Linked DNA regions of Homo sapiens: all the other regions are linked to region 3. Evidence: promoter capture Hi-C in 16 types of primary human blood cells and fetal thymus (Javierre and others, 2016). All regions are on one chromosome and are shown on one strand. The core of a region is centred on a gene start or on the middle of the fragment in contact, and the rest is flanking DNA. Distances in the headings are between cores, read along the strand shown. Region 1 holds the start of MEAF6 (MYST/Esa1 associated factor 6). Region 2 has its middle 31 kb from the start of LINC01685. Region 3 holds the start of FHL3 (four and a half LIM domains 3). Region 4 overlaps LOC105378657 (a long non-coding RNA gene). Region 5 holds the start of GNL2 (G protein nucleolar 2).

What was found. The method cuts DNA at HindIII sites, captures the fragments that hold promoters and counts their contacts. A CHiCAGO score of 5 or more calls a contact.
Region 1: a contact is called between the fragment with the promoter of MEAF6 here and the fragment with the promoter of FHL3 in region 3, in 7 of 17 cell types (fetal thymus, activated CD4 T cells, total CD8 T cells and 4 more). The highest score is 8.7, in fetal thymus.
Region 2: a contact is called between a fragment that was not itself captured here and the fragment with the promoter of FHL3 in region 3, in 1 of 17 cell types (total B cells). The highest score is 5.7, in total B cells.
Region 4: a contact is called between a fragment that was not itself captured here and the fragment with the promoter of FHL3 in region 3, in 1 of 17 cell types (total B cells). The highest score is 5.9, in total B cells.
Region 5: a contact is called between a fragment that was not itself captured here and the fragment with the promoter of FHL3 in region 3, in 1 of 17 cell types (fetal thymus). The highest score is 8.2, in fetal thymus.

The regions. Positions count from the first base shown.
Region 1 is chr1:37,512,575-37,516,690 of GRCh38, forward strand. It overlaps MEAF6 (MYST/Esa1 associated factor 6), which reads right to left and starts at 2,192. Exons shown (of 7, transcript NM_001270875.3): 1 at 2,083-2,192; 2 at 849-964. The coding sequence starts at 2,172. RefSeq lists a silencer at 1,777-2,376. The HindIII fragment of the contact is 2,267 bases long and covers 1,061-3,327 here.
Region 2 is chr1:38,503,663-38,507,977 of GRCh38, forward strand. No RefSeq gene overlaps it. Among named protein-coding and RNA genes, the nearest start is that of LINC01685, 31 kb to the left of the region's middle. The HindIII fragment of the contact is 2,754 bases long and covers 1,471-4,224 here.
Region 3 is chr1:38,003,835-38,008,313 of GRCh38, forward strand. FHL3 (four and a half LIM domains 3) reads right to left here and starts at 1,680. Exons shown (of 6, transcript NM_004468.5): 1 at 1,523-1,680. RefSeq lists an enhancer at 1-498 and silencers at 1,351-1,710, 1,741-1,800. The HindIII fragment of the contact is 9,980 bases long and covers 1-4,479 here.
Region 4 is chr1:38,483,626-38,488,205 of GRCh38, forward strand. All of the region lies in intron 2 of LOC105378657 (a long non-coding RNA gene), which reads right to left. Among named protein-coding and RNA genes, the nearest start is that of LINC01685, 11 kb to the left of the region's middle. RefSeq lists enhancers at 619-1,379, 1,380-2,140. The HindIII fragment of the contact is 755 bases long and covers 2,911-3,665 here.
Region 5 is chr1:37,594,145-37,598,849 of GRCh38, forward strand. GNL2 (G protein nucleolar 2) reads right to left here and starts at 1,793. Exons shown (of 16, transcript NM_013285.3): 1 at 1,615-1,793. The coding sequence starts at 1,678. RefSeq lists enhancers at 1,292-1,351, 1,522-1,711. The HindIII fragment of the contact is 1,567 bases long and covers 2,058-3,624 here.

The DNA of each region.
Region 1 (4,116 bases), core at 942-3,441, 490 kb before region 3:
TGGCACACAGGTATGGCAAAAATTGTGAGGGTCAGTTGGGCGTGGTGGCTCACCCCTTTAATTCCAACACTTTGAGAAGCTGAGGCAGGAGGACTGCTTGAAACCAGGAGTTCCAGGCCTGCCTGAGCAACAAAGTGAGATCCCACTTCTACAAAAAAAAGTTTTTAATTAGTCAGGTACAGTATGGTGTGCCTGTAGTCCCAGCTAATTGGGAGGCTGAGGTGGGAGGATCACTTCAGCCCAGGAGTCTGAGGCTGCAGTGAGCTAAGTTCGTGCTACTGCACTCCAGCCTGGACAACAGCGTGAGACCCTGTCTCTTAGAAAAAAGAAAAGTGGCCAGGCGTGGTGGCTCACACCTGTAATCCCAACACTTTGGGAGGCCAAGGCAGCAGATCACCTGAGGTCAGGAGTTCGAGACCAGCCAGGCCAACATGGAGAAACCTCGTCTCTACTAAAAATAAAAAAATTAGCCAGGCATGGTGGCACGCACCTGTAATCCCAGCTACTCAGGAGGAAAAAGAAAAAAAGAAAAGAAAAATACTGTGAGGGTAGAACTCATGACTGATTAAAATGTGTAAAAAATTTAATAGAATGCTATTGTATAAAGATACTGTATTTAAGCCTCACACAACCCTGTGCCATAGGCCCAACTTTCGCTATTTTACAGATGTGAGCCTTGTCTAAGATTATTCGGTGAGGCAGTGCCTGAGCCAGAGTCCAAGAGTTCAAGTCCAGATCACACCACTACTTTACTACTGCCTCCAGCAAAGTTGCCACTAAGAGCATACAGTCCTAAAAACAAACGTTACTAGGGCACAATAGGAACACTACAGGCTTTCGACACTCACTTTTGGTTGGTCAGATACCGATCCCAGCCACGAATAATATTGCCATACATCTGAGTGTCTTCCAGGTAGCTTCCCTCAAAAGCATAGATCTGTCGCTCCAAATTTGCCAATGTTTCCTGAGAGATGAAAAACAAGGACATGAATGATACCTTTTAAATGCAAACACTTAAGTCTGGCCAAAATGAAATCCTGATATTAGACTCGTAAACGCAAGCTTGCCCACACTAAACCACCCTGTGGAGAGATGGAAGATACGGGGAGGAGGAGCCGTTTAGGACTAAGACAGTCTAGACCTTTGGGGGTGATGGACCCCTGAATGTATAAAGCATGTCTCCAGAAAAATACACACACACGCGAAATTTTGCATATACTTTAGAGGATTCACGGAAACCATGAGTCAAGAGCCCAGGCTAACGCAGAACTTGGGCGATGTCCACTCCCACGCACAAAAGGTATCGCTACCAGGAGAGGGAAAGGTGAGCAGCCTTTCAGCGTCAACTCGCTCCCCTCCCCGCAGGCTCAAGAGAGGCCGCCGACACCGGGCTGCCAGTTGCTATGGAAACCTAGAAGGGCAGCTTCAGGTGAGAGGGGCCTCCCGGGTGCCCAAGCCGAGACGCGGGGGCAGGAAGAGCTTAGCCACCAGAGTGCATTGGGCCTTGGGTGCCTGTCACAATTCTGAATTCTCCGGAATGTGTTCTTCTCCCTCGCCTGTCACCTTCTAGATGTTCCCAAACACATCACAACCCTGTCTATCAAAAACCTCCATTCAACGGATCTACTCCCAGTACCAAAAAGAACACGCTCCCCACCAGCCTCCAAAGTCCAGACGGGGTGACTGGGTCCCCCTCCCACACTAGCCTCCTTCCCCACCCCCTCCCCGCAAAGATCACGGACTAGCCCGCCTCGCCCACCCCCGCGGCTCACTGACGCTCGCCCTTCCTAGCGCCCTCTCCCCGGGCCCCGGCACCGTCCTCCCTCCACGCCCCCTCCTGCGGCTGCCGCTTCCCCTCCCCCTCCCGCGCTCCCGGCTCTCTCCCGGCTCCGGATTCGCACAGCCGGGAAGCTGAACCGCCGGCGGGCCGCAGAATGCGCACCCGGCCTCAGGCCGCCGAGCACCCGGCCCGCCGCGCCGCGCCCCCGGAGTAACAAACGGCCTAGCGCGGCCGGGCTTGGGGCCTGGAGGCGGGGCGGGCGCGGAGCCCCATGCCGTGCAACCCCTGTCCTAGCCCCTCACCGCCAGCTCCTGCTTCCGCTTCACGAGCTCCGCCAGCTCCCGCCGGGTGTCCGGGATCTGCGGCGGCGCCGCCTTGTTGTGCATCGCCATGTTGGGCTGAGGCGGGCGGCGGCGGCGCGAGGTTGGGGGCGGTCCCTGCGCCGCCAGGGGGCGCCCCCCCGCTCTGCGCCTGCGCGCGCGGCTTCCGGAGACGCGTGCAGCGCCGTGCCGAGCTTCGCTAAGGCCGGGGCTCTCGAAGGTCCTTCTCGGAGAGCTCTAGAGATGCGGCTTCTGCTTTCTGCCGTTTCCTGCCCCTCGGCTGGCCGCCGGCTTTACAGACGCCACAAATCCACCGCGTCCAAAGCCTAGCTCGTCCTCAGGCCTCCGAGTCTCCTGTGCGCCCCGCTTCAGTCCACTTCAGTGAATGACTTTCACTATCCACCGAATTGCCTGCGTCAGAAACGCGGTTTTCCTCACTCTGCACCTGGAGTAAAACGCGATCCCAGGTCAAGCTCTATGGACTCGACTCCGGAAGAGCTCGCGAATCCATTTGCTTGTGCCTGCGCCTTCTGCCACCTCACTAGTTCATTCAGGCCCTCCCTGTTTGGGGCTACATTATTCCAGCGGCTTATTTCCACCTTTAGCCCCACTTAATCCACTATCCACAGTGGTGCCAGGATCTTCCAGAAACAAATGTTATCACTCCCCGGTTTAAAGTCTTTCAGTGGCTTCCCATTTTCCCAGTGCCCTTTGGAGAAACAAGTATGTGTAGTGGTTAAGGGCACAAAACTGGAGCGAGAACTACCTTGTTCAAAATCCTATCGCTACATCGATAAAGTGTGCTCCTTTGGGCAAATAACCAAATCTCAACTCCCTCATCTGTAAAATACAAGCAGTAATAGAATCTACCTAATACATTTGCTGTGAGGAGTAAATCACCTAATATGTGTAAGGGGTTTGGCAGGCGCCAATGACTGTGCAAGTACGAGTTCGCTTTTATCGTTAAGTCCAAGGTGTAAACGTTGTTTTCACTTGGCCCCTGTGGATTTCTCCGTCCTCAGCTCTCCATCTTTCACTGTTCTGCAGTTTCGCTATCATAAGTCTAAGTGGGATATTTTTTCTTCCTTTTGTTTTGTTTCTTGCTTGGAAGTCTTTGGATTTCTATAATATGTGGGTTGGTATCTTCCACCAGTTTTGGGAAATCGCAGTCATTTTTCTTCAGATGCCTGTCTCATTTCTCTCTCCTTCTGGAACTCGAACATAAGAAGCTTTTTAACCTACCGTCTATATTTTCCATCTTTTTGTCCCTCTGTGCTGCATTCTGAATAACTGGTTTCGTGTGCGGATCTTGTAACCTGCCATCTTGCTGAACTCCCTTACTAATTTTAGGGGGGGTTGTATAGATTCCTTGGAATTTTTACATAGATAATAATTTCATCTGCAAATAAATAGGGAGTTTTTTTTTTTCTAAGCTGAGTGCTTTTTCTTTTTCTTCCTTATTGTGCAGATTTCCAGTAGTCTGTTAAATAAAAGTGATAACATTAGACATCCTTGCCTTGTTCCCTGTTTTAAGGGGAATGCAGGCCGGGCGCGGTGGCTCACGCCTGTAATCCCAGCACTTTGGGAGGCCGAGGCGGGTGAATCACAAGGTCGGGAGATCAAGACCATCCTGGCTAACACAGTGAAACCTCGTCTTTATTAAAAAATACAAAAAAAATTAGCCGGGCGTGGTGGTGGGCGCCTGTAGTCGCAGCTACTCGGAAGGCTGAGGCAGGAGAATGGCGTGAACCCGGGAGGCGGAGCTTGCAGTGAGCCAAGATCCCGCCACTGCACTCCAGCCTGGGCAAGAGCGAGACTCCGTCTCAAAAAAAAAAAGGGGGGGTGGCGAATGCATTCAGTCTCTCACCATTAAGTATGACATTAGTTGTGGGAGTTTTGTAGATGCTGTTTTTCAAGGTGAGGAAGTACCTCTATATTCCTAGTGTAAACCAAAAAACAAACAAGTAAAAAAACTTTTAAGCCACTGGGTGCGGTGGCTAAATCCCACCACTTTGG
Region 2 (4,315 bases), core at 1,598-4,097, 500 kb after region 3:
AATCGTTAGCCCTATAACTGTATCGTACATTCTCTCTCCCCCACCTCTTCTCTCTCTGTCCCTCCCTCCTTCCTTTGCTAGTATCCTTCCTTCCCTGGACTCAATCATCCTCATATTCTGTTGCCATTAGCTTTAGTTGTGGACTCCCTTTTTGTCTATTTGCAAAGACATTTTGGTATCTATTGATTGAAGGCAGGATTTTAGATACAAAGCCAAAAAGCTGTGATGAGCCTTCCCATTCTGACAATGTGATCAAGTTCTGAGTGTTGTAGAGTGAGAGAGGAAAGACAATTAGAAAACAAGGCAAGGGATGGAGGGGGCATGCTGTGGTGTCATTGGCAAATCCTCATAAGCCAAGCGGGAGGCTCCCTTGTGCTGCACAGATGTGGGTACAAAACCATCCATGGACACAGGACAGATTCCCTCAGCAGACGTTAGCTGAGTAATTACTATGTGCAGGTCACCTTCACACCTGCACACCTTCCAGTTTATAAAGCACCCTCATGTCTCTTACTTCTTCTGGTTCTCACACCTACCTATGAGGCACGTGTGATCATCCTAACCTCACTCATGAAGAGACTGGAGCCCAGAGAGGCCATGGGGAGTAGGAGGAGCCAGACGAGAATCCAGATCTTCTAATTCCTGATCCAGGGCTCTTTCCCCTGCACCAGCCACAGAGCATTGCTCTTGAAGTCACCAAATAAAACAGCCCTCAAAGTGCAGCACATCTAACCAGGCTCTGCAATTGTGAATAAGTCACCTCTCTTCAAGATGGCCAGAAAGAATCTAGAGGAGGGTGACAATGACTTTGTGTTGAGGAAAGGAAGAGCAGGGACAGATTGAAATGACCTGTACTCAGCGTGGTGAGAAAGTTTAGAAGTGGCAAGCTCCAAACCTACTGTCACTTTGGGGGCTTCCACATTCAGCCCATTTAGGTATTCAAGTTAGGGGTTTCCTTTGACATTTGCAGAAGTTCATTTAGAAACAACATAGAATTTGTTACCTTATGCAGTGTTAGACTTTTGCAATTCATTTCTCTAAGTGGTCATGCTAAAAATACAGTCACAAAGGAGAAAGGAACTGAAGACATCAAATAATGCCATCTCCTTCATGCTAAAATGTTTCCAAATGATTTAGATGATGTTGTGGGTAGTAACTTATAAAATGATCTAGAATATTCTGAGAACATCCTTAACCTTTGAGATTGACAACTGGTCAGATAGTTATGCCCTTTAATATAACATTCCTCAATATCCTAATCAATGATAAATTCTGAGCCTAATGATCCGGGAAGGCATCTCTGACATTCTCAACTCATTCATTTCACAAATATTTTATTGAACACCTATTGTATACAGGCCTTGGGCTTGTTGCCAGGGATACAATGGTGAACTAAGCAGACACAGTTCCTGCCCTCAACCTGCAGCAGGGTGGGAGATAGAGATACCATAATTCTAATACAAACAGATAAGCTTTGCCAAGGGAAATAAAGAAATGCTATGAGAGCCCCAAGAGGGGCACCCAACCAAGCTCAGATGGTCCAGAAAAGTTTCTTGGAATGGTTGACTTCTAAGCTGGGACCTGGAGGATGAATAGGATGTGGATACATTTGGGAGTCGGGAGACCATTCAATCCCCTATAGTGCATGTGGAGGTTGGGTCCCAGCTCCCTAAGATTTCTGTTATGGGTTGCCAAGATGTCCATTTTACCAGGGTGCTTGTCTATTCCACCTGAAATTACATAAGCTACCCGGCCCTGGACATCTGTGCAATGTTTCAGGAAGCCATAAGAAGGCAGATAGTTTTATTTTTTCAAAGCCTTTCTCACCCAGAAGGGCAGACAGGGTCTCATTATTTGTGGGGACAAGAAAGATACGTAGTAGAGGAAACATTAATTCAGCAAAAGGTTCATTCTTTTTTATGTACAAATTATGCAACGTAATTGTTTTACCATGATTAATATTATTTCAGGGGCCTAACAAACACCATTTACAATGCAAATCTCCTCAAGGCTGCAGAAAGGTACCTGTAATCAGGGAGGGTGTGATGGCTGCCCAGATGGAGTGGGGACAGGATGGAGCGAGTGAGAAAGGGTCACATGGCTCATCTTTGAGCACAGCATCAGAAAGGCCAAGTGGGCATGGCGGTCTCCTCCTTGCTGCACCCAGCAAAGGCTTCAGGAGGACTTTCTGCATCTGTCAAGCATGCCCTCTGAGCTCTAAGCCAATGTCTCCATTTCTACCCTCCCTTCCTGAGGCTTCCCTTTAAAAAGTCACATGCCTTTACTCCTAACCAAGAGAAAGCCACATGACTAGGTGGTGGGAAGATGGGAAATTGGAAAATAACAACAAGGGAAAATGTGTCAAAAGTACCCATCTGTTCTAATTCATCCCATCATTAATAACGTCTCCTCCCCCTCTTCCAGAAAGAAAAAGCAGGAGGCCTCCCACTGGGCTGTGTCCCCATCTCCTGGTGCCATCGCAGGGGCTCACGTGATCTACCGCTTTGATGTGGTTTGATTCTCTAAACGTGTGATTAGCACACACTTTGTACCACACACCCAGTTTTAGTCGTCTCTAGCACTCACCAGTTAGAAGCCCCCAAGCCCCACCACCAAATTGCCCTTGCGAGATAGCTGCTCTCTCTAACTCAGCTTCCCTACGCAGAGGAGCTCCTGATGCTGAATGAAAAATCACCTCGCTCTGCCTATGCTCAAACAGCACAAAACACATCCTGGGAAATATCCTCTGTCACTCTGGGATACAATTTCTCCTTACCTCTTTATTCCCATTGCTTCCAATGTCCTGTGTTATAAATGTGTAAATTCAATAAGCGTGAAATTTTCCAGAGAGAGAGGGAAAAAATCATTATAGCATGGCATATATGTTGGTGAATTGTTAATTTGCTAGAGCAACAATATCACTGCGATGTTACAACTGGTTTCCTTAGTAACATGTTAAAGTATATAGGAAAACACTTTGGGGTAATAAAATGTTCCCATTTGAATTTTGAATAAACTTTCACACGAGGTAAGGAAGTGGGATTCTAAAAATAACAGATTAGGTAATCAATTAACTTATTCAGTCATTCCATGGAATTTTAAAATATGAAAATATTGCACTTGCTGGAAATATGTCAGGTTACCAGAATTGTGTCTCGCTGTGCTGGTCAGTTAAATTTTGAAGAATTACTTAGAAATTTTTTCCTGTTTAACACTCAGCAATGTATGGAAACAGCTCACCTGGGCATTCTGAAATGAAGAGAGTTTATTCTTAAGGGTCCAATAATCAAAAATAAATTACTTTCCTGGTGCTGGAATCCAGCAGCCCAGACTTCCACATCATAATTTTCTGGGGCAATGGTTTTCAAACTTCACTGTACGTCAGATTCCCCTGGAGGGCTGGTTAAAACACAGATTGCTGGGCCCTGTTTCCCAGAGTTTGATTCAGGAGGGCTAAAGTGGAACCTGAGAATTTGCATTTCTAGCAAGTTCCCAGGAGGTGCTGATACATCTGGTTCAGGGACGACACTTTGAAAGCCATGTTCTAGGGGAAGCCTAAAAAATGATCACTCTGGCCCTACATATCTGAGCAATAAAAAGGGATTTCATATCATCTTAAGACAATCTGAATCTTAAAGCAATGGCACAGAGATCTTCTTTCCTTATTCATCATTTATAAAAAGCCATGGCTCACGGCTGTAATCCCAGCACTTTGGTCGGCCGAGGTGGGCGGATCACCTGAGGTCAGGAGTTCAAGACCAGCCTGGCCAACATGGCGAAACCCTGTCTCTACTAAAAATACAAAAATTAGTCGGGTGTGGTGGCACACGCCTGTAATCCCAGCTACTTGGGAGGCTGAGGCAGGAGAATTGCTTGAACCCAGGAGGTGTAGGTTGCAGTGAGCCGAGATCGCACCATTGCACTCCAGCCTGGGCAACAAGACTGAAACTCTGTCTCAAAATAATAATAATAATAACAATTAAGGAGATGGGTCCATTCTCCTGGGAGATGGGGAAACATAGATGGGCCTAGAGGCTGCATGCCTTCCAAAGAGGATAAACAGGGAGTGGGGCCCTCACCTGGCATCAGGCCAACATCACACAGCATGAAGCAGGGCCTCTATTTTTAACCAGCTCCATCGCCAGTGCTCAGCAGGCAGCCAGACACCAAGTAGGAGGTTGGCCAGATGCGCTTCCACTCGAGTTAAGAGTACACTCAGTGAGAAGCTTGATTTTGTTACAGGTTTTACTAAATGTATTCACAAAGTCATTGGTGACAGGAAAATGCTTAAATCGCAGTCCTTGCCCTTTAGCTC
Region 3 (4,479 bases), core at 430-2,929:
GGGCAGGGGAACAGGAGATGCACCAGAGCCTGGCTCTTCTCCTCAGCTGCTAGCCCTGTGATTGGAAGACACCCAGAAGCCTTTCCAATGCCCCATGCCAACCATTCAATCCTTCTGCCCCCACCCCCAACATGCCCACTGTCCAGGAGGACCCTGGCCAGGTCCCACAGCTGTGAGTCAGGATCAGAACAGACCCCTCCCCCACCTTCTAGAAGCTGACAGGAGACTTAAGGGGAGAAATCCAACTCCCTCAACCCTCACCCTCTGCTACCGGGCACCAACCCCAAGCTCTGCTCTCCCCCATGTGGCCTGGAAGTCAGAGAAGTTTAGGGAAGGGGGTTGGGGAGCAAGATCCCGCAGCTGCTCTGGGGACATGAGAGGAACAGTTCATTCACCCTGGGTCCCCCAGGGCTGAGGCAGCCCATCCAAGATTTGAGTTCAAAAATAAGTTGGGGCTGTCTTGGTGGCTGTGTGTGTGCGTGGGGCTCTTCTTGATCTCGAACTTACTGTCTCAGGGCCTCTGCCTCATGGGGGATCGGTAGGCTCAGAGTTTCTGTTTCCCCACAGCCTCACCTCCCAATGGTTCAGGCCCGGGTAAGTCAGGGGCTGTCCTGGAAGCTGTCAGACCACCTAGGTCTCTCTGCCCCCACTTAGTCTCAGTTTCTGGTGTCTGTCTCTGCTTCACTCAGCATCTCTGTGTCTGGGCACACTTCAGTCTCTGTCTTTAGGTTTTGGACGGCTCTGTATCTTGACTGGCTGTCCCCCAGGGGGCCCATGCCTCTGTGGATCTCAAGTCTTGGTCTCTTCTTGTCTACATGGCTGAATGTCTCAATCCCCACCACCTCCCTTTCTCTGTCTCTGCATCCAAGTCTCTTTCGCCACCTCTGCACGCCTGAATGTCTCTGTCTCTAGTCTCTGAGCGTCTCTGCAGGCCTCAGAGAGCAGATTCAGCATGAGGCCAATGACGCCCAAGCCTCAGGGCACCTCCAAGGCCCGGGGAAGGGCCCTAGGGAATGTGTTCGCTGGGGTCCCACGTATGCTTTTTCTGAAAATGCTCCACAAAGCCTAGGACGGCCCCCATGCCTCGGGTCTGTCCACCAGTAACTCTGTACGCCCGGTGTGTCCTTGTTTCAGTGGTCTCGGTAGCCTCCTGTGCCTCGAGTCCCTGCCTGTCTCGGTCTCTCGCTCCACCGGGCTTTCCGAGAACCTCAGTTTCTCCAGCGCTTCTGGTCGGTCGGTCTGTCTGTCTCTCTCCGGCTTTTCTATTTCAAACTTAGCCCCCTCCCCCGCCCAACTCTCGCTGCCGCCCCCGCCCCCGCCCCGCCCGATAGCCCGGAGGGGTCCAGTCCCGGCGGGCGCTGTCCCGGGCTCGGCGTGCCCCGGGCACCCGTGGCCAGAGCCCGGCGGGTACAGGGGACCGGGGCCGCGGCTGGCCTCAGCCCTCCGCGGGTCCCTTCGCTCCCCGGCCTGGGCGCGGGGGCGGACCGCCAGGGCTGGGAGCCGGGGTCGGCGGGGCGCTCACCTCGAAGCGGGCGGCGGGAGCGGGGAGCGCGCGGCGCAGGCGGGGCCGGGAACCGGGCGCCGCGTCCCTCGGCGGCTCCTACCTGCGGGCCGGGCCAAGCGGGGGCCGAGCGAGCTGCCGGCGAGGCTGCCGACTGCAGACGGACCGTGTGGGCGAGTGGGAGCGCGGCCCCAACCCCTCCCCGAGGAAGTGAGCGCGGGCCCGCCCCGCCCGGACCCCGCCCCCGGCCCCCCAGCCCGCCGCGGGGGCCAGACCCCGCCCCCACCTCCCTTTCGGCCGCCAGTCGGCCCGGCCCCCTCCTCCCGCCCGGCCTAACCTGGCTCTCCCAACCTTCAAGCGGCCGGGACCCCGCCCCTGTCCCCTCCCCGCAGCCTCTGTTCTCCTCCCCTCCCACCCCCCATCCCCAGCTGCCAGAGGGAGACTGCTGTATTCCATCTCAGGCCGGCGACACGAGACCCCGCAGACCATGGTCCACTGGGGGAGTCCTCTGGCCTCCTCGGATCCCCCCACCCCTTCACCTTACCCCAGGGGTGACACTCAGCCCGGCCTTAATCCAGCCTGGAGGAGGACGTTTTGACTCTGCTGTCATGAGCCTGTCAGCGGGCACCAAGGTGTTCTCTGAAAACATGGGACGAAGAGAGGACCCCTCCCCACCATAGGGCCTTGACCTCCAAAGGGTTTTATTCCACAACTTTGAGTAGCAAAAACAGGGGTAACCACCTCCCCACTTCCAGCAGCCTCCTGACACTGAGAAGTCCTGCCTTGCCTGGGTTTCCGCAGTGCCCAGGAATAGTTTTGACCTTTGAGGCCCGGGGGAGACCCTAATCCTCGGCCCCATGATCTTTGGGCTTCTAGGGTGGGGTGTGAGGAGTGTGAGAGGATGGGGCACCTCAGGGGTGGTGGAGGAGAGGGGAGGGGACCTCTGCGGTGTCTGAGCCTCTGGCTTCCTCCCTGTGTCCGTGAGGGAGGACTGGCGCCTGCTAGGGACACGAGGCCCCTCCAGGTCCTTAAGGCCACCCCCCCTGGGATCCTCAGGCTTGTCACTAGGAATAAATAGCCTCAGTCTGGAAGAGGTGGGGGAGGGAGGGAGGCAGGAGGCTCTACTGTGCTGTTTGTGGAAACAAGAGACAACAAATCAACCCCGGAATAACCTTAGCATCTAGAGTGAAGATTCAGGTGCCCACAGAGGCCTCCCCACACCCCAGGCTGGGTGTAGCAGAGCTCTCACGGAGGAACTAACACCCTCCCAGGCTGGGGCTCCTGAGAACCTTTCCGTCCCATCTCTGCATCATGCCTGGGTTCCTGGGTCCCAAGTCACCCACCAGGTCTGGTTTCCTTTCAAAATTAAATCATTGCTTGCTTATTATTGCTGTTGTTGCCTAAATGGTAAGAGCCATGAAGGCAGGGCTCCGTTTTGTTCCCCACTGCCTTCTCAGTACTTACTCCAATATCCGGCACATAATAAACATCTGATGAATGAATGGATACCAGACACTGCTTCAGTATGTATGCCCCTCTAACATCCTCGGTTTGGATCACAGGCACCTGCTATCTGGAGTCCAGGCAGTGAGCATCCAGCCCATGGATGGGGCCTTTTTCTGGGATTTTTTTTTTTTTTTTTTTTTTTTTTTTTTTTGAGATGGAGGCTTGCTCTGTTGCCCAGGCCGGAGTGCAGTGGCGCACTCTCCGCTCACTACAACCTCCACCTCCCAGGTTCAAGCGATTCTTCTGCCTCAGCCTCCCAAGTAGCTGGGACTGCAGGTGTGCACCACCACGCCCGGCTAAATTTTTTTTTTGTATTTTTAGTAGAGACGGGGTTTCACCATCTTGGCCAGGCTGGTCTCAAACTCCTGACCTCAAGATCTGATCTGCCTGCCCCAGCCTCCCAAAGTGCTGGGACCACAGGCATGAGTGACCATGCCCAGCCTCTCTGGGATGTATCTTGCAGGTGTAAGAGACTCCCAGCCCAGGGGAGTGCAGTGAAGACTACTCAGCCTTGGTGGAGTGGGTACCAAGAGGAGGTCAGCTCTGGGGGACGGGAGGGCAAAGGTGGGGAGCCTTCAGAAAGCAAGGGGTTATGAGTGAGTACAGAAGGGGCCTGATAAAAGGCAGAGTATTGGAATCTCTGTTCTTGATGCATGGCTCTAATCTCTCCTAAATAGCCTTAATGAGAGCCAGTACTTCCTGAGTTCTTTCTTTGCACCAGTCCTGAACACTTTACATATATTGACATACCTGATTATTCAATAACTTTATTAAATATATGTGCATCTATATTTGTTTGTTTTTGAGACAGTGTGTTGCTCTGTCACCCAGGCTGGAGTGCAGTGGTGTAATCACGGCTCACTGTAACCTTAACCTCCTGGGCTCAAGCGATCCTCTTACCTCAGTCTCCCAAGTAACTGGGACTACAGGTGTGGGCCACCACACTGAGCTAATTTATTTTAATTTTAATTTTTTGTAAAGGCAGGGGTCTTATTAAGTTGCCCAGGCTGGTCTTGAACTTCTGGGCTCAAGCAATCCTCTTGCCTCAGCCCCACAAAGTGCTGGGATTACAGGCATGAGCCACTATTCCTGGCCTAAATATATATTTTCATCCTCATTTTAAAGATGAGAAAATGGAGGCACAGAGAGATTAAGTAACCTGGCAAGGGCGACACAGGTAATAATGGCAAAGCTAGGATACAAATCCCAATGGTTGGCCGGGCTTGGTGGCTCTTGCCTGTAATCCCAGCACTTTGGGAGGCTGAGGCAGGAGGATTGCTTGAGCCCAACAGTTTAAGACCAGATCTGGGCCAGGCGCGATGGCTCACGCCTATAATCCCAGGACTTTGGGAGGCCAAGGCGGGCGGATCACGAGGTCAGGAGATCAAGACCATCCTGGCTAACGCAGTGAAACCCCGTCTCTACTAAAAATACAAAAAAATTAGCCAGGCGTGGTAGCAGGTGCCTGTAGT
Region 4 (4,580 bases), core at 2,038-4,537, 480 kb after region 3:
CCCTGTCACTGGATGTGATGAAGTGGAGACTTCTGCTGCAGAGGAGATGAATACATTGGATAAAGGTCTGAGTTACATTACTTTTAAGGTTCCTTCCAATTCTAAGATTCTGTGGCTCTCTACATACATAAATTACCTACAAAGGAGAGAAGAAAGCCACACTGGTCTGAATCTCAGATCATGATTATATGCACAGAAAACTAAAGGTGTTCAATGGTTACTTTTGCCCACTTCCATTGCACCAGCCAAAGGAATATAAGGACTTCTTTCCTTCCCCCTCCAATTGAGGGATCAAAGCTTTGTCCCTCCCCGACAGGAGGCCTTCTGTCACCAACACACTCCCTGCAGATGAGGAATACTTAGAGGGCCATGGTTCTGCTGCTCAGCCCAGCTCAGCTGGGTACCACTTCATTCATTCCACAAATGCTTCTTGAGTATCTGTTTTTGTTTTTTGGTTTTTGTTTTTGGTTGTCATTGTTGTTGTTTTTCCAGATACTGTGCTGGGTGCTGGGGATACTGAGTCAAGTAAGATATGATCCCTGCCCTCAGAAAAACTACGGAATGATGGGACATCCATGAAAGTCAATTGGATGTCATACTACAGTGTAATTGAGGCAGATAAAAGGTGCTCTGAGGAGGGATGTCTAACCTGGACTGGAAAGGCTCCCTGGATGAGGTGACTCAGGCTGAATTTCAGAGGTACTGTTAACAGTTAGTTAGCTAGACCAGTGCTGTCCAGTAGAATCTTCTGTAGTGACGGCAATGTTCTATGATCTACTTACACAGTACCTAGTAGCCACGTGAGGTAACGGAGCACTTGAAATGTGGCTCATGCAACTGGGGAACTGAACTGTTCATTTTATTAAAGTTAAAATGTGTCTATATTGGACAGAATAGATAGGCAAAGGGTGAGAGAAGGCTGTTACAGATAGAGGACAGAGATCAGAAGTGTGCAAGGGCACAGCACCTGGAGGGCATGACGAGGCAGCCAGTGAGGGGCCAGAAGAAGGGGCCTGTGGGTCCATGGTGGGGGATGGGATCGAGACTGGTCAGCAGCCAGCTCCTGAAAGTCCTGGTGTGTGAAGCTAAAGAATTTGAACTTCCTGGCCGGGCGCGGTGGCTCATGCCTGTAATCCCAGCACTTTGGGAGGCCGAGGTGGGCGGATCACGAGGTCAGGAGATGGAGACCACGGTGAAACCCCATCTCTACTAAAAATACAAAAAATTAGCCGGGTGCAGTGGCGGGCGCCTGTAGTCCCAGCTACTCGGGAGGCTGAGGCAGGAGAATGGCATGAACCCGGGAGGCGGAGCTTGCAGTGAGCCGAGATTGCACCACTGCACTGCAGCCTGGGCAACAGAACGAGACTCCGTCTCAAAAAAAAAAAAAAAAAAAAAAAGATTTTGAACTTCCCATTTATCCTGAACTTCTTATTTTTTTTTTTCTCCTGGGCTCATGAAATCTGCCTGCCTCAGCCTCCCAAAGTGCTGGGATTACAGGTGTGAGCCACCAAGCCTGGCCCTAAGGTTTTAAGTAGAGAATGATAAAGTTACATTTGTGTTTTAGAAATATCACTGCAACAACAGTGTGGAGAATGGATTGTGGGAGAGGCCGTGGGCCAGGGGAGCAGCTTGGGGAGGCTGCTGAGAGCCGGAGCTGCTGAATGGCTGACAACAGAGCTAAGCAGGGGCAGTGGGAAAGAAAAGGATGAGGGCCCCAATCTGATCTGACTCAGGACTTCTATTGCTGATCAGACCTACTGATGGGGGGAGGACACAGCTGGGATGAGATCCCACCCAGGTTCCTGGCGTAGAGGGCAGGTGGATGCCATGGCATGGAATTCCCAGGGAGGGGGATTGTGGGCAGAGCCACTAAGGGCATGTGTATTGAGTCAACAGAAGAGAGCATGAAATGGAACCCTGGAGAAGGGAGACATTTAAAAGGTGGACCAAGAAAACAAGTCCACGAAGGATACAGAAAAAAAAAAAATCAGAGAGGCAAAAAGAAATCCAGAAGATGAGTGTCACGGAAACAGAGAAGACAGAGTTTCTAGGCAGGAGTAGTCAAGAGTGTCAAATGCCATATGAGCATTAAAAGGGTGACAGTGAACTTAGCAATTAGGAGGTGAGGGTGGGGTGGGAGCAAATTTAGTGGAGCACTGGGGGTCTTAACACCGATCTGGATTTGACAGTTGAGACCTGTTTCTTCCTGAGATCGTCTGCTCCCTGGAGACATAGGGCCCAGTGGCTTTTAAACTTTTTTGAGTCACAAATGCCTTTGACAATCTAATGAAAGCTATGTCTCCTGTCTCCAGGGAAATTCACCCACAAATAAAATGTTGTATTTCATTTCAAGGATCCCCTAAAGCTCATCCACTGACCCCCTGGTTTTAAAAAAGTCAAAATTACTTAGTTTCTATTTGCTGAGTTCTGGCTGCAGAGATCTGAATTCTAACCAAATCGTCTGCTTCCTGGGAATCTAAATCTAGACAGAAATCTTCCATTCCTCCATCTCCTGGGGCCCTCTAGCCTCAGCTCCAGCCTGGTTCATTCACATTTCCAGGCTTATTGTCCTGCTTCCTGTCAATCAACTCTAAATCATTACGCAAATTAACATCTCTAAAGCCCACCTCAGCAGCCTCTGCCTGGAGATGTGTAACTAGTGTTTCCCAGGGTCCAGCCTGGGGTACAAAGGGGTCACAAAAGCAGTTATAGAACTGGGAGAACCGCCTGCCGCCCCTGCACAATGCCAGCGGGTGGAGCAGGGCTTTGCTCTGACATCTGAGGGCTTGTAGCCCAGGAACGTTTGTCACTGTCCCTTCCCACCAAACATCTTGGTTCACAGGTCTCTTTTGGCCCTCTCTTCCAGTTTTTGAACATACCTAGGTATAAATGAATTCGCTGAAGTTTCAAAGCTTGTTCCCAGTTTAGGGGATACCCCCAGAAGAAAGGTAAAATCAATGTGTTTTTTTTCAGAAGAAAAGAGGGAGAATGGGTGGAGATATAGAAAGAAGGGAAGAAGGCAGGCAGGCAGGCAGGAGGAAGGGAAGAAGGAAGGGAGGGAGGGAGGGAGGAAAGAAGGAAGGAAAGAAGGAAGGAAGGAAGGAAGGAAGGGAGGAAGGAGAGGTCATCTTGTTGCTAAATCTTGGATTCTTAAATCAACCTTAGCTGTAAAACCTTTACAGAGTAAAGTTGCCAAAATCCCACTCACAATTCTGCTATTACTACAACTAATGATAATAACAGCCACAACCTCACATGTTACTGTTCTGTTATTTTTTAATAAAAAATGTATACAGTTAAGGTGTACAATGAGATGTTTGATATACATACACATAGTGGAATGATTACTGCAGTTAAGCAAATTAACATATCCATCTCCTCACATAGTTACTGCGTGTGCGTGCACACTTGCACGCGTGTGGGTGGTGAGAGCACCTGAAATCTACTGTCATTGAATTTCCAGTATCCAGCACAGTATTATTAAGTACAGTCATCATGCTGTGCATCAGCTCTTTAGACATTCATCCTACATAACTACAACTTTGTACCTTTTGACCAATCTCTCCCCATCTCCTCACCTCCCTGCCCCTGGTAACCATGGTTCTCCTACCTCCTGGACAGAAGAGAGTCCCCTAGCAGAACTAAAGTGAATGGCGATTCTAGTAAGCTTACAGTTGGCTACTTTTCCTGAAAGCTTGGGAAAGCCAGCAAACTCCCCCATAAATCCACCCTAAACAAATTCACACATGAATTCCAGAATGCTATCTGTTACAACTTACAGTTGCGTCAATACAGGATGGAGCTCCCCAGACGGTGCTGGCTGTTGAGTGCTGCAGCGAGTGCGATATTGGCCCTTTAGATTTCACAGACACCCTCTCCAAGTACAAACACACACTCACACACACACAGACACATGCGCGCGCCTACTCCATCGCGGGCTGCGTGGTGTGTGCAGTCAGCAGCCGTGTGGAGAATGTGAAATCACACCTCGCTCTCCTTCCGAGGCAGTGAGATCTTTATTGGTTTGGGAACTGCAACAGTTTGCGTGCTGAGAGGTTGCAGGAGGTTTCCAAGCACCCCATGTGGAGTTTGGTGCTCTGGCACCGTTCACATGGTTCCCATTTTGCCAGATCCTTTCTAGAGGCTCCTTCCGCACAGCCTGGGGAAGGCCCTCAACAGAACATAATGTAAATCTGTGGCTCTTGTTAGTGTTCTCAAAGATAATGCATAGGTTCGTTCAGTATTTGACAGTTCACACAGATTATTTCTATTTCTTACCCTGTTTGCTACTCAAGAGGCACTAGGAGGGATCCCACACAGGAATTATTGACCCTGCTTTGCGGGGGAGGAAAGTGAAGTGCAGAGAAGTCAAATAACTTGCTCAAGGTCAAGTGCAAAGAAGTCAAATGACTTGCCCAAGGCATTAAGTGGTAAAGCTGAAACCAAAATCCGGGCTTCGAGTTCAGGCGCCTTTCCCCTGACTCGCCCTTATCATAATCATAATCTTAAGCTATCTTTACATTTATTGGTAACTTTACAGCACAAAAAGTCACCTATGGAATTCCATATGGCGTTTCATT
Region 5 (4,705 bases), core at 1,591-4,090, 410 kb before region 3:
ATACAATAATCCTATAGATATATTATCCCCATGCTGCGGAGTGAGAAACTGAGGCACAGTGGTCAGACACCTTGCCCAAGGTCAAACCGTTACTAAATGGCAGAGCCAGAATTTGTACATGAGCATTTGATCACCATCTATGGTCTTAACCACGAAGATACCTACCTCTGTGTCTCAGTTTAACAAATATTGAGTGCCTGCTCCATGCAAGGCACCATGGAGACTATAATTTTGATATATGTGTTCTTACTTTCTTAATGTTTGATTTTTGTTTAATCAACACAGCAATTCTTGCCTTACATCTCAAAGAGAAAGAGAAGGACAAACGAATAGGGTAATACTAGCCTAGCTTCTCATTTTGGGAGCCCTTTATTTACCTATTTATTCATTTATTCATTATTATTATCTTTTTTTTGAGACAGAGTCGTGCTCTGTCACCCAGGCTGGAGTGCAGTGTCGCGATCTCAGCTCACTACAACCTCCACCTCCCCGGTTCATGCAATTCTTCCACCTCAGCCTCCCGAGTAGCTGGGATTACGGGCATCCGCCATCATGCCCGGCTAATCTTTGTATTTTTGTAGAGAGGGGGTTTCATCATGTTGGTCAGGCTGGTCTTGAACTCCTGACCTCGGGTGATCCGACCGCCTCGGCCTCCCAAAGTGCTGGGATTACAGGCGTGAGCCACCACACCTGGCCAGGAGCCCCTTAAATCACCTGTCTGGTCCTGAAGTGATACAGTAGAAGACAGGCTGAAACCACAGCCCATTGGCTCTCCTAACAGTCTCTAACAGTAGAAACTGGCGGCTCTACTACTACTCACTAACTGTTGCAATTATGACAGGCCACTTCCTGTATTTTGATTCAGTCTCTTCACCTGTAAAATCATAATCTCTAAGGGCCTTTTGGGGTCTAACATTCTGAGATTCCAGTTTGTGCAAAGTGAATAATTTATTATCAATCCGGAATAAACATTCAACTTGCATTAAAATTGTCAAAAATTCTAAACCATATTTTAAAACAAAGTTTTATTAATTAAACCTGAATGGAAGGAACTCTCCCATAGGATGTCTTGTTAATCGTACAGGTGGAACCTCGCCAAAACTTACACACATCTCCTAAACAGCCTTACTGCAATGATCATACTGACTTCTTTGTAGGGTTCTCTAAGCACTTTACCAGATAGAATAATTCCAAGGGCCAAAACTATAAGCCCTTTCTCATTTTAAAGGTCAAAGCTAAGGTGGCAGGCAAGTATGATCACGTGTAAAAGGCCCGAAGGGTCAACCTACACCATTTTTAATCTGACTTTCTCTGCATCTCTCAACTGGAGAGGACCCAAGGCTGTCAGCCTGAGTGTTCACTTTCCTTGACTTCAGACCAGTTGACTACACTTTGGCCTGCCAGGCGTGCACTGAGCCCTCCTCAGTTCCCCCCTGAGAAGAAACCACCACAAATATTGCTTTCCTTTTTCCCTTTTCATCCCCAACAGCCACCCCGCTCGTAGTCATTCTAAGCAATGCCACTCGAGTAACCCTCCTTCCCCTCCAGTGCTCCTCGGAGCCCTTCCCTATACTTCCTCCAAGCTCCACCCTCGATCAGCCCTGCCGCCTGTACCTGGGTTTGTGCTGGCCTTGGACGGGTTGATGGTGCTCCGTCCTTTGTACTTGGGCTTCACCATCTTGGCGACGAGACCGGGACCGGAGTGCGAGGTCCGGCTTACGTGGTGAAACAAACTTTTATGTTCCCAAGCCCGGCCGAAGACACCCGCCTGAACCACGCCGGACCACGTGTGCACGACGTACGTCACTTCCGCTCGCGTCCCTCTCGGCCTCAGAGCGACTTCCTGTGAACGCGCGGCGCGCGCCGTCACCCTCCTGGCTCCGCCCCCGCTCCAGCCGCCTAGGCGTCGCCCTGCGTGGAGCCCCAGCCCGCTCCAGCCCTAGCAACCGCCAAGCTGCCCGTTCATAGCAACCGCCTAGTTAACCTGAACGCGCGGCCAGAGCTCCCAGTTGGGTCCACCTCCGAATAAAGAAGCTTCTTCCCAGGCCAGTGGCACAAGCTTAAGTTTGTCTTCTGAATTTGTCTTCTAAGTCCTTCCAAAAGTTGCCGACCACACAGCAGCCAAATATCCGTTAGGAGGTGTCATTCTCTTCCTTACAACTCCAGTGGCTTATCATCACTCTTAGAATGAGAGGTAGGGGAAGGGAGAAGGGAGAAACAGACAGAGACAGAGATTGATTCAAACTTTTTGCCATCCCTACAGGATTCTGTGATCTGGCCCCTGCCTGCCTATTTATCTAATCTCATGTGTACGTCCCTCCCTCTGGTTATTCTGACATTTACACTGGATATTCTCTCTGCCTGAATCACTCTTTCCCAGAATCTTTGCATAGCTGTCATTCAATCCTAAGCTCAAATATCACCTATTGGTAGGCCTGCAAGAATTAGCAAATAGAAATACAGGACACCAAATTAAATTAGAATTTCAGAGAAAAAAAATGAATACTTTTCTTTAGTACACCTCCAACAGTGCCTGGAAAATACTTAGACTAAAAAAGTATTCATCGTTTGCCTGAAATTCAAATGTAACTGTACGTTCTGTATTTTATCTGGTGACCCTTCCTGCTGTGAGAACTCATTCCTGTCTAATTTGTCTAAATCAGCCACCTTTCACCCTTTCACAGTTATTCTGTTACAGTATTCTGTTTTATTTATTTCATGGCATTTATCACTAGTTGAATTTTTTTTACAAGTTTATTGGCTGCTTCCCCCAAACTAGAATGTAAGATTCTTAAAAGCAGGGACCTTGTTAATTTGTTCACTGCTGTGTCTTTAAGACTTGAATAGCATCTGAAACAAAGGACTCAAAAAATATTCATTAAGTGAAAGAATGAGTAGATGGGAATGTCTCTTGCCTTGAGGATGAAGGAAGGCATTAAGACCCAGTGATTTCTGTTTCTACTAGCCAGAATAAAGTGTCTAGATGCCAGTGTTTGAACCAAGAAGCCCTCTCTCTTTTTACAATTTATTTTTTGTTTGTTTGTTTTTGTTTTTGTTTTTTGAGACGGAGTCTCGCTCTTGTTGCCCAGGCTGGAGTGCAGTGGCCCGGTCTCGGTTCACTGCAACCTCCACCTCCCGGGTTCAAGCAATTCTCCTGCCTCAGCCTCCCAAGTAGCTGAGATTACAGGCGCATGGTATCATGCCCAGCTAATTTTTGTATTTTTAGTAGAGACGGGCTTTCACCACATTGGCCAGGCTGGTCTCAAACTCCTGACCTCAGGTGATCCACCTGCCTCAGCCTCCCAAAGTGCTGGGATTACAAGTGTGAGCCACCTCGCCTGGTCCCTCTCTCTTTTTTGGTACCTCAAATTGTCAGAAAATGGCCATCTTTGTACCCTCTGGATAGGCCAAAGAAGAGATGGTTAGGCAAGAGGAAGGGTGGATTCATGCAGTGTAGCTCATTTCATAAAAACAAACAATTTGTTATAAAGTGAGGTATTCTAATTGAGCAGGGGATGATTGAGTCTTTATTTCTCTGAGTTTGAAACAAACCCCAAAACATTCTCTTTAGAGCAAAAGCAGGCCATGTCATAGGCTAGAGCTGGAAATACCTTCTGTCCCTCAAGCTTCGCTTTTATTGCCCCAAGGGCAAGTATCATGAGATTAAATGCAGCTCTGCTGGGAAGGCCCTGACTGTGACCTGTGTTAGGGAAGCTCTGAGAGCTATTTGGAAAAAACTTCATGATCAGTGAAGATGCCCCCTTCCACCCCACACTGTCCCTCTGATCCCCAAAACAAGGATACCATAGCCTCCTCCCAGAGAGAAGATTCAGTTAATGTGTTTCTGATGCCTCAAGTTGGTGCAAACCAGAATAAACACGGATGGCAAAAATCAGCCTATGAGCTCATTCAGGCTTTGATCAGAGACATAATTTCATTATGAAATTTTGAATCAGGCTGTTGTGAAGTCTTGCCAAGGAGTTTCATTTTCCCAGATGATATGGTGGGTTGTTTCTCTCCTGTTCTCATACTCTGCTTGCATTTATCTTACAAACTTTCCATCTATTTTTATAATCTGACCCATCAATCCTTTTACAACAATATTTGCCGATCTCGACAACCAACTTCAATTCTACCAGCAGATAAAAAGCCTGATCAAGGTAAGTCAAGCTTAAGTTACTGGTTTGATTTGCCTGCCCTGCTTGCCGCATTGTAATGCAGTGACTATTTTTCACTCTCTTTTCTGATGTCATGCCAACTAGCAGAGGCAAGATACACCTCCAGGTCTACAGTTCCTCAGCTTTAAAACAGATGCAATAGCTTAACTACTCTGAAAGACTGCAATAAGATCATATGAGTTACAGTATATGAAAGCATCGCAGACATGGTACACATCATGCAGATGGGATGCTTTCTATTTTTCTTCTTTTTTTTTTTTTTTTTTTTGAGATGGAGTCTTGCCCTTTCACCAGGCTGGAGTGCAGTGGCATGATCTCAGCTCACTGCAAACTCTGCCTCCTAGATTCAAGCTATTCTCATGCCTCAGCCTCCCAAGTAGCTGGGATTACAGGCACGCACCACCATGCCCAGCTAATTTTTGTGTTTTTAGTAGAGACGGGGTTTCGCCATGTTGGCCAGGCTGGTCTCAATTTCCTGACCTCGAGATCTTCCCGCCTCGGTCTCCCAAAGTGCTGGGATTACAGGC